Regions from separate parts of the Homo sapiens genome. Here region 1 is linked to region 2. The links are contacts of gene promoters, found by promoter capture Hi-C in blood cells and fetal thymus (Javierre and others, 2016). All regions are on one chromosome and are shown on one strand. The core of a region is centred on a gene start or on the middle of the fragment in contact, and the rest is flanking DNA. Distances in the headings are between cores, read along the strand shown.

Region 1 (5,675 bases), core at 862-3,361, 110 kb after region 2:
CGAGCACCTGTAATCCCAGTTATTCAGGAGGCTGAGGCAGGGTAATCGCTTGAACCCAGGAGACGGAGGTTACAGTGAACCAAGATCATGCCACTGCACTCCAGCCTGGGTGACAGAGCGAGACTCCATCTCAAAAAAAAAAAAATTAGCTGGGCGTGGTGGCGGGCGCCTGTAATCCCAGCTACCCAGTAGGCTGAGGCACAAGAGTTACTTGAAGCTGGGAGGCGGAGGTTACAGTGAGCCGAGATCATACCATTGCACTCCAGACTGGGCGACAAGAGAGAAACTGTCTAAATAAGTAAATAAATAAATTAATTAATTAAATAAATAAATGACTCTGTCTCAAAAATATAACACAGGCAAGCTTGCGTTCCTTCGCCAGCTTAATAAGGTGACCTTGCCCCCTCTGAGGCTTGAACTCAGGACCATTCAGATTTTGAGACTGATGCGCTACCTACTGCACTAAGGAGGCAGCTAAAAGATGCTTTGCTTCCTATAATATACAGTTCTATAGGTTTTGGAAAACATAATCGTGTAATCACCATGCAATCAAAATATAGAACAATTATTTTATTCCCCAAAGCTTTTAAGAGCTCAGCTCAGCTATTTAGATGGCTAAATATATCTTCCTTTTGGGATCTGGTCCAAGTGCCGTTCACTTCCCTTCATTATATCATCCAGCCTTTCCTAGGAAGCTCTTGGCTCTCAAACTGATGGGAATAAGGAGGCCACTGTGTTCACAGTGTAAGGGAGAAGGGTGGGTGCAGCACAGATAAAGTCATCCACCCATACTCTCAAAATACTCTCAACCTAGGGGGACCCAGGGAGAAGGGGGAAGAGGCTGAAGGGAGCACTGGAGTCACTCCTGGGCTTGTAGGAGAGCCAAAGGGACTCTTTTGCTTCCTTGGTCCAGCTACCCTACCCTGTCTCAGCCTCCACACACACACTCTTCTCTCTCTTTCTTTCTCTCTCACTTTCTTTCTCTCTTTCTCCCTTTCTTTCTCTCTCTCTTTCCTTTCTTTCTCCTTCCTTCCTTCCTCTCTTTCCTTCCTTTCTTTCTTTCTTTTTTTTTTTTTGACGGACTTTTGCTCTTGTCTCCCAGGCTGGAGCGTAGTGGCATGATCTTGGCTCACTGCAACCTCCGCATCCCGGGTTTGAGCGATTCTCCTGCCTCAGCCTCCCGAGTAGCTGGAACTACAGGCACATGCCACCACACCCGGCTAATTTTGGTATTTTTAGTAGAGACGGGGTTTCACCATGTTGCCCAGACTGGTCTCGAACTCCTAACCTCTGGCGATCCACCTGCCTCGGCCTCCCCAAGTGCTGGAATTACAGGCATGAGCCACCACGCATGGCCCACACACTCATATAAAGTACACACATACAATTATTTACACATGCAAACACACATACATCTAATATATGTAAGCACATAATATACATACATGATTACCACTATGCACAAATGCTTACTCACATAGAAATAAGCTCAAACAGGCTGGGTGTGGTGGCTCATGCCTGTAATCCCAGCAGTTTGGGAGGCCGAGTAGGTGGATTGCCTGAGCGAAGGAGTTCCAGACCAGCTTGGGCAACAGAGTGAGACCCTTGTCTCTAATAAAATACAAAAATTACCCGGGTGTGGTGGCACACGCCTGTAATCCTAGCTACTCTGGAGGCTGAGGTAAGAGAACCGCTTGAACCCAGGAGGCGAAGGTTGCAGTGAGCCGAGATAGCGCCACTGCAATTCAGCCTGGGCGACAAAGAGAGACTACATCTCAAAAAAAAAAAAAAAGCTCAAACAGAAATACACAAGCTCACACATCTGGGAAAGTTGCATCTTGCATCACTTGGGGAAGTCATCAGTCATTTGCTCCTCCTGTTGCTTCAACTTCATACTTCCTCACCATGGGGTATCAGAGTTATCCTGAGGCTGACTATTCTTTGTGGCTTCTTTGTTGCTGTGGGTTATGATAGATGAAGGGTAATGTCTAATTTTCAACTGATTTAGTAAGCTTGTGTTTGAGAGACATGAGGATCCTGATGCTGGTTCCGGGCAAGGTGTTGGAGGCTAGTGGGACACAGGGTATGGGGAAGTGAGGCATATGTGACTTCTTTTGTAAAGATGTGTCAGAGGTAGCTGAGTGCATCACTACTTCCCTAGATGTATTGGTGTTTCTAGTCTTAAGAAAGCCCATATTTGTGAAGCTTACGTTTTTCTACACTATACGTGGAATTTTTTCGATTGTACATGGTGAACTCCCATTGAGTGTTGGAGAGAAAGCGTTTGAGCACCCACGAGTTCATCAGCTGATGTGTTCTTGAATGCTATACTGAGCTGGAAAGTAGATAGGTTATGCCTGGGTGGAGTTGAGCTGACCCATGCTAGCATAGGTATAGGCTATCTCTAGAAGAATTCACAAGGCATTGCTTACATTCACAGTAAAAGGTATTTCTTAGTTGTTTTTGTTTTTTGTTTTCAGGTGGAGTCTTGCTCTGTCGCCCAGGCTGGAGTGCAATGGCTCAATCTCAGCTCACTGCAACCTCAGCCTCCTGGGTTCAAGCAATTCTCGTGCCTCAGCCTCCCGAGTAGCTGGGACTACAGGCACACGCCACCATACCCTGCTAATTTTTGTATTTTTAGTAGAGACGGAGTTTCACCTTGTTGGTCAGGCTGGTCTCGAACTCCTGACCTCAGGTGATCCGCCCACCTCAGCCACCCAAAGTGCTGGAATTACAGGCATGAGCCACCGCACCTGGACTATTACATATTTTTTAATAGTGTGATGGTTAATTTTATGTGTCAACATGACTGGGCTAATGGATGCCCAGGTAGCTAGTAAAACATTATTTCTGGGTGTGTCTGTAAAGCATTTCCAGAAGAGGTTAGCATCTGAATTGGTAGACCGAGATCACCCTCACCAATGTGGGTGGGCATCATCTAGTCCACTGAGGTCCTGAATTCATCAAAAAGGCAGAGGAAGGGAGAATTTGTTCTCTCTCTCTTCTTTTTTTTTTTTTTTTTTTTTTTTTTTTTTTTTTTTGAGACAGAGTCTCAGTCATCCAGGCTGGAGTGCAGTGGTGCGATCTGGGCTCACTGCAACCTCCACCTCCCAGGTTCAAGCAATTCTCATGCCTCAACCTCCCAAGTAGCTGGAATTACGGGTGCATGCCACCACTCCTGGCTAATTTTTGTATTTTTAGTAGAGATGGGGTTTCACCATGTTGGCCATGCTGGTCTGGAAATCCTGACTTCAAGTGATCCACCCCCCTCAGCCTCCCAAAGTGCTGGGATTACAGGCATGAGCCACCATGCCTGGCCTGCTCTCTCTTGAGCTGGGACATTCTTCATCTCCTGCCCTTGGATATCTGATTCTTGGGCCTCCAGACTCAGATTGAATTACACCACTGGCTTTCCTGAACCTCCAGCTTACAGATAGCAGATCGTGGAACTTCTTTCTCAGTCTTCGTAATCATATGAGCCAGTTTCTCAAAATAAATCTCTTTCTCTATATCTATATATATCCTGTTGGTTCTGTTTCTCTGGAGAACCCTGATTAATGCAAATAGGTAATACATTCTTGTGGTTCAAACCTCAAAAAGTATGAAACAATGTACAGTGAAACATTTCCATTCTATTCCTGATCCCAGCCATTCAGTTTCCTTCCCTAGAAGCAATCAATTTTTTTTTCAGATTTTTATTTTATTTTATTTTTTATTTTGAGACAGAGTCTTGCTGTCACCCAGGCTGGAGTGCAATGGTGCAATCTCGGCTCACTGCAACCTCCGCCTCCTGGGTTCAAGCGATTCTCCTGCCTCAGCTTCCTGAGTAGCTGGAATTACAGGTGCCCGCCACCATGCCTGGCTACTTTTTGTATTTTTAGTAGAGACGTGGTTTCACCATGTCGGCCAGGCTGGTCTCAAGTGATCTGCCCTCCTTGGCCTCCCAAAATGCTGGGATTACAGGCGTGAGCCACCACACCTGAAGCAATCAATTTTAACAATGTTTTGTTTATGCTTCCAAAAATAGACTATGCATATACAAAAAAAAATTCTTTTATTTTCTCTTTTTTATACATTTGATAACATATTACACAGTTTTTCCTTATTTTTTTCTTGCTCTTGTTTTGTTTTATAGCTGCATAGTATTCCAGCGTTGGCAGAAACTATAGTTTCTTTAATCTGTCTTCTATAGCTAGGCATTTGGATTGTTTTCAGTTTTTTTGTTTTGTTTTGTTTTGTTTTTCCTGCAAGACGGAGTCTTGCTCTGTCTCCCAGGCTGGAGTGCAGTGGCACGATCACTGCAACCTCTGCCACCCAGTTTTAAGCGATTTTCCTGCCTCAGCCTCCTGAGAAGCTGGTATTACAGGCGCGAGCCACCAGGCCCAGCTAATTTTTGTATTTTTAGTAGAGACGGGGTTTCACCATGTTGGCCAGGCTGGTCTCAAACTCCTGACATGGTGATCTGCCCGCCTCGGCCTCCCAAAGTGCTGGGATTACAGGTGTGAGCCACCACGCCCAGCTCTGTTTTCAGTTTTTGCTGTTACAAACAGTAATTATAACAGTTTTTGCTGTTACAAACAGCAAATTATGTATATTTGCAATTATATATACTTGATCCAAGATATATGTCAATACCTCATTCAGGTTTTCAAAACGGGGTTTGGCTCTGTGAGTGGATCTGTGTGGACCTTTCCTAAGGATTCATTCCCTCCACTCTTACTTAGACTGATCTGTTGTGATCATATTCTCCCTTCTCTCTAGTTTGGTGTTGCTTTTGCAAGGTATAGACTTGCAAGATATAGCCCTGCTGTTCGTGCATTCCTTCAAGGCAAGAAGCAAGACTGGAGGGAGTAATAAAAAGGCAAGTAATCTCCTGTCTCTTCAAATTGATGGTTTCAAAACACTTGTTGAGGCAGGGTTCAGTGGCTCACACCTGTAATCCCAGCACTTTAGGAGGCTGAGGTGGGAGGATCCCTTGAGCCTAGGGGTTCCAGACCAGCCTGGGCAACATGGTGAAAACCCATCTTAATTAAAAAAAAATTATAATTAAATGGCCGGGTGCGGTGGCTCACGTCTGTAATCCCAGCATTTTGGGAGGCCGAGGCAGGCGGATCAGGAAGTCAGGAGATCGAGACCATCCTGGCTAACGAAGTGAAACCCCGTCTCTACTAAAAATACAAAACAAAATTAGCCGGGCGTGGTGGCGGGCGCCTGTAGTCCTAGCTACTCGGGAGGCTGTGGCAGGAGACTGGCGTGAACCCGGGAGGCTGAACTTGCAGTGAGCCAAGATTGTGCCACTGGACTCCAGCCTGGGCGACAGAGTGAGACTGCATCTCAAAAAAAAAAAATTATAATTAAAAAAAGATGACAAGTCAGTTGGGTATATAAAGCTAGAGTCCGGGGGTAAATTCCAGTTAGAGTTAATATATGTAAAGTTCTTAAAACAGTGCTACGTGTTTCTTTTTAAGCTGTCAGATTGTGTCACTCCTTTGCTCAAAACTCTCCGGTGATTTCTCATTTTATTCAGACAATGGCAAAATCTTTCCAGTGTGCCTACAAGGCTCTCCATGATTTATCCTCTTACCCAACATCTACTTTGGTGATGGTTAATACTAGCTGTTGTAACAAATAAACCCCACAGTACCAGTGGCTTCACACAACTGAAGTTTATTTTT
Region 2 (6,012 bases), core at 48-2,547:
TCAGTAAAGCTGGCAGATTCAGCAGCATGCTGAAGGACAGTTACTAACTGGCAGAAAAGTTACAGCAGCCCTTTTAAGAAGGATTTAAAATACTGATCATTAATACGTAAAAATGCAAAAGTTTAGAAACAAAGAATGACACTGGAGATAGTACAATAAATATTCATGCAATTAAGCTGTTTTCCAAGGAGCGGTCCCCACAAAATATGGGGGAAAAAAAAAACCTTCAGAGAATGCAATATCTGAACTGATAAGGAGCTCAGCATGTTCCAAGGCACTCAGACTTAACATTATCTCACCTGTCTGTCACAGCAACTCTGTGGCGTAATTTTATGAATGGGAAAAACTCAGGATCAAGAGGTTAAGCGACTGGCCCAAGGTCACTCAAGGAATCAATGGTGCAGCTATACCTAGAAGGGTGCACTTCACCTGATCCTTCCCACTACATAAGCCAGCTCCCCGACTGAAGCATTAGGACAGCGGAAAAGCAGGGATCAGACTCTGTGAGTGTCCCGCACTACTCCTATCCTGCCAAGGAGGCGCGGGCTTGCCTTTGAAAGCCTTCCCTAGCAACTCAGCCAGAGAGGAGGAAGTTGTGCCCGAGGCAGGCCACTGATCAGCCCAGCAAAGTGACAAGGATGACAGGCGCAGCCCCCAAAGGACCAGCCGGCATTCCCAGGAGCCCTTCCAAACCCTGCGACGGCGAGACTGGTCTCAGAAACATCTGAAAAACCTCCCAGTAAGTTTCGCCCCCTCCTGGACGTGAGGAACCAGCTGGGAATGAGCCAGAGGTCGGCCAGCCACCCGAGCCAGCCATGTGTCCAACCCGTCACGCCCGCCCCGCCTCAGCCGGCTCCTCATGCCTAGACCGCAGCCAGAGGCCCAGCTCAGGATCCGAAGCAAAGGCAGCCTTGGCTGCAGCCACCACCACCACACCACACCGAGGCGCCCCGGCGTGGAAGTCGCCGTCAGATGTCCGCCCCACCCTCCTGCTGGGACCCTCAACGACGTCGTCCGCGCCTCCGGCCAGGCCCCGGGGGCTCGGCCTGCCACTTCTGCCCACCCGCCTGCCCGCCGCCACCGCTAGCCGGGCGTCCTTACTTCATTGAGCTGGCGCTCCGCGGCCTCACGCAGGGCTGGGTCCATAGTGCCCCGCAGGGCCTCGATAATGGTGTTGGGGTCCATCGCAGCGCGGACTCGGTCAAACCCGGGGCTCGGGTGCTACTGGGCCAGGAATAGCGCCACTCACTGCGCACATGGACCCGCCGCGCTCCGCAGCGGCAACCGGCGCGAAAGGAAAGAGAAGCGCCAAGGCCCCGGATAGAACCTCTTCGCCTCGGCGTGGAGGCGGGAGATGCTCCGGCGACTTCCTGTGGGCGCGCCTGCGGAGCACTTTGGGAGATGTAGTCCACAAACACAGTCCGCAGCCCACGTGGCTGCCTGAGCTGTCGTTCCTACAGACAAGTCTTTCTGTTCAAAAACGAAAAATGTTCAAGTTCCACAAAAAGAAAAGCAAAACAATCAGTTACAAAAGGTTTCACATACTATATCCACAATGTTCATAAAGGGAGTCAGATACAGTGTGTGGTGCAATCGATTGCTAATGGCTGCGTGATTGAAGGAAACTTTCTGAAAAGCAATTTGAGATGTGTTTCTGATAGCCACTAAAATATTTAAACTGCCGGGCGCGGTGGTTCACGCCTGTAATCCCAGCACTTTGGGAGGCCAAGGCGGGCGGATCACGAGATCAGGAGATCGAGAGCATCCTGGCTAACACGGCGAAACCCCGTTTCTACTAAAAATACAAAAAATTAGCCGGGCGTGGTGGCACGCGCCTGTAGTCTCAGCTACTAGGGAGGCTGAGGCAGGAGAATCGCTTGAACCCGGGAAGCGGAGGTTGCAGTGAGCCGAGATCGTGCCATTGCACTCCAGCTTGGGCAACAAGAGCGAAACTCCGTCTCAAAAAAACAAAACGAAACGAAATGTTTAAACTCTGACCCAGTAATTCCACTTATGAGACTTTATCCTAAGGCAATAACACGGAAGATTAAATGAACTTTATGTGTGAAAGGTTTTTATCACATTACGTATTAGTAATTACCAAATACTGAAATCATGGCTTTTTATTGAGTATCCAAATTTTAGTTGGGACTTCATATAAATCACCTCTTAATGCAGAGTAAAAGCATAATCCCTATTAAAATACACCTTCCTGCCAGGCGCGGTGGCTCACACCTGTAATCCCAGCACTTTGGGAGGCCAAGGTGGGCGGATCACAAGGTCAGGAGATTGAGACCATCCTAGCTAACACGGTGAAGCCCCGTCTCTACTAAAAATACAAAAAATTAGCCGGGTGTGGTGGTGGGCGCCTGTAGTCCCAGCTACACTGAGGCAGGAGAATGGCGTGAATCCAGGAGGTGGAGCTTGCAGTGAGCCGAGATCATGCCACTGCACTCCAGCCTGGGTGACAGAGCGAGACTCTATCTCAAAAATAAATAAATAAATAAATAAAAATAAAAGACACCTTCCTAGCCAGGCGTAATCCTCCTGTTGAGGCAGGAGGATTGCTTGAGACCAGAAGTTCAAGGTGACAGCCTGTTAAGATCGTGCCTATGAGTAGCCACTACGCTACAGCCTGGGCTACATAGCGAGACCCCATCTCTAAAAAAAGAGGGAGGTGGGGGAGAAAGAAAGAAAGAAAAAGTCCTCTTTTATAACAGCCAAGAAAAAGTTTGTTTTAGAAAGGTTAAATAACTTACCCAAGGTCACGTAGTAAGAGGTTCAACTAAGATTTCAAACCTAAGATCTTTGTTTTCAAACTTTCCATTGTTTCCACTAAATCACTCTGCCTCTGAAGAGAAATGTTGAACAATATAGGACTGGTTAAGCAAATAGCAAGAATCCAGTAAATTAAATATTTCACAGCCATTAAAAAATATAACAAAAAAGTATTTATGGAAGGATATAGCTTTGTAACATGGACAAAGACTGAAAAGCAAGGTTAGCAAATGAAAATAATTTATTTTCTATTAACAGGATGGTGAGATTTGGAGTAATTTCCTTTCATATCTGTTATTATTGTAACAAAGTTATATAAACAGATATACTTAAAATTAATTATAAGCCTTCAAATACAATGTGTTAAATGATCACTTATTGTTTTTAATTTACAAAAAAAAGAGAAGGAAAGGCTCACGAAAGCCTTTCCCTGAAGCGGTGGGTTTTGCAATGTTACTACCTTGTATATGCCAGCCACTGTGCCTGGAAGTACTGGAAGTAAGACAGAATTATTCCTAATTTAGGCCGGGCATGGTGGCTCACAACCGTAACCACAGCAATTTGAGAGGCTGAGGTGGGCGGGATCACCTGAGGTCAAGAGTTCGAGACCAGCCTGGCCAACATGGCAAAACCCCATCTCTACTAAAAATACAAAAATTGCCTGGCCCGGTGGCTCACGCCTGTAATCCCAGCACTTTGGGAGGCCAAGGCGGGCGGATTACGAGGTCAGGAGATCGAGATCATCCTGGCTAACACAGTGAAACCCTCTCTCTACTAAAAATACAAAAAAGACCGGGCGCGGTGGCTCACGCCTGTAATCCCAGCACTTTGGGAGGCCGAGGCGGGCGGATCACAAGGTCAGGAGATCGAAACCATCCTGACTAACATGGTGAAACCTTGTCTCTACTGAAAATACAAAAAATTAGCCGAGCGCGGTAGCGGGCGCCTGTAGTCCCAGCTGCTCGGGAGGCTGAGGCAGGAGAATGGCGCGAACCCGAGAGGCGGAGCTTGCAGTGAGCCAAGATCGCGCCACTGCACTCCAGCCTGGCGGACAGAGCCAGACTCCGTCTCAAAAAAAATAAAAAATAAAAAATAAAATAAATAAATAAATAAAAATAAAAATACAAAAAAATTAGCCGGGCGTGGTGGCCGGTGCCTGTAGTCCCAGCTACTCGGGAGGCTGAGGCAGGAGAATGGCGTAACCCGGGGAGTGGAGCTTGCAGTGAGTCGAGATCGGGCCACTGCATTCCAGCCTGGGCGACTGAGCAAGACTCTGTCTCAAAAAAAAAAAAAAAATTAGCCAGGCATGGTGGTGCTCACCTGTAATCCCAGATACTCAGGAGGCTGAGGCAGGAGAATCACCTGGACCAGGGAGGCAGAGGTTGCAGTGAGCTGAGATCGCACCAGTGCACTCCAGCCTGGGCAACAGAGCAAGACTCCGTCTCAAAAAAAAAAAATTTACAAATGAAGAACCCGAGGCTCAGGCTACTTAAATTGTGAGGAGTCAGAAAGTTTTCATAATAATAACCTGTAAAAAGTGTAATAGTGTTACAAATACAATCTGTTTAAGAATTTTCCTCTCCCTGAATTGTTTGAACCCGGAAGGCGGAGGTTGCAGTGAGCTGAGATCGTGCCATTGCACTCCAGCCTGGGCAACAAGAGTGAAACGCCGTCTCAGAAATAAAAAGAATTTTCCTCTCCCTGCTCCACTGCTCAAAGTGAAGGCCTTGAAAACAGGCTTATGTTCTATTGACCTTTGTATCCTCACCTCCTACCACAGAGTTAGAATGTAAAGGAGGAGTTTAAAAAATTCTTTAAGTGAATAAATGAAGAAAGGAATTAATAAACTAGTAATGACTTATAGGTGGCTGAGCCAGAATTGAAGCTTCATTCTTCATGATTCAAAAGCTAGTCCTCTTTCTGATATTATATGCCTATTTTAGATTCCAGAATTGACTTGTTTATCACGGAATTGTGAAGATTTTAGCAGAGCACAATGTATATGAAAGAACCTGGCACATAGAAGGTAGTCCAAAAATGTTAGTTTCCTCTCCCTAAAACTGAAAGGGAAAAGAAGTGGTAGTGAAAAATATGGTTTTAAGCTGTAGTGCTGGGAACAGGGAGCCAACGAGGCTTGCAGATCTACAGCTGGCATGGGGCCTGTGTCTCATCCTTCATAGAGAACAGAGCACACTGGGTACAAGATCCTGTCTGGGGAGCCAGCATTCCTGTATCCAAAAAAGGAGCTTGGCCCCAGGGAGCATTCAGGAGCTAGTTGGTAGAGTGATTAGCACACTCAACCTATTTGTAGATTTTAGTTTTATTTTGTCAAGCTAGTGACACAGAGAATGTGACTTACGTGACTGGAAATTTCAGTGTGAACTCCTCTAGGGCAGAGACCACATCCATCTTTTTTGTGGTAGACACAGAAATGAATGAGTGCTCAATAAATAAGTATGAGAAGACTAATGAAAAAAGTGGTTTGTTAAGCCACTGTAAACACAATTACATAACCTTATGGTGTCCCACAATCCCAATCCCCAGCACAGCAGCCAACACAGGTATCTAAGCCTCCTTAGGCAAGGTGAAGGCTGAGAATTCAGAAAAGCATAAACCATAGTCTCAGAGTTGATTTTGAGGTAGGATGAAATTAGACAAAAATTAAGAAGAGATGCGGCCGGGCACAGTGGCTCCTCATGCCTGTAATCTCAGCACTTTGGGAGGCCGAGGCTGGCAGATCACGAGGTTGGAGAGTTAGAGACCACCCTTGCCAACATGGTGAAACCCCATCTCTACTAAAAATACAAAACTCAGCTAGACATGGTGGCGTGCACCTGTAGTCCCAGCTACTCAAGAGGATGAAGCAGAAGAATTGCTTGAACCCAGGAGGTGGAGGTTGGTTGCAGTGAGCCGAGATCACACCACTGCACTCCATCCTGGCGACAGAGTGAGATCCGTCTCAAAAAAAAAAAAAAAAAAAAAAAAGAAGAAGAAGAAGAAGAAGAGCTGGGCCTGACTCAGTGGCTCACACCTTTAATCCCAGCACTTTGGGAGGCCAAGGCAGGTGGATCACCTGAGGTCAGGAGTTCAAGACCAGCCTGGCCAACATGGTGAAACTCCATTTCTAGTAAAAATAAAAAAATTACCACAGTGTGGTGGTGCGTGCCTGTAATCCCAGCTACTTGGGAGGCTGAGGTGGGAGAATCTTTTGAACCTGGTAGGCGGAGGTTGCAG

What was found. Contacts are between HindIII fragments. The CHiCAGO score rates a contact against its expected background, and 5 or more counts as called.
Region 1: a contact is called between a fragment that was not itself captured here and the fragment with the promoter of IPO7 in region 2, in 2 of 17 cell types (activated CD4 T cells and M2 macrophages). The highest score is 5.5, in activated CD4 T cells.

What each region holds. Positions count from the first base shown.
Region 1 is chr11:9,270,040-9,275,714 of GRCh38, reverse strand. TRL-CAA5-1 (tRNA-Leu (CAA) 5-1) reads right to left here and starts at 472; the gene lies at 399-472. RefSeq lists a silencer at 1,806-2,006. The HindIII fragment of the contact is 193 bases long and covers 2,015-2,207 here.
Region 2 is chr11:9,379,937-9,385,948 of GRCh38, reverse strand. It overlaps IPO7 (importin 7), which reads right to left and starts at 1,297. Exons shown (of 25, transcript NM_006391.3): 1 at 1,102-1,297. The coding sequence starts at 1,185. RefSeq lists an enhancer at 780-1,295. The HindIII fragment of the contact is 13,114 bases long and covers 1-4,665 here.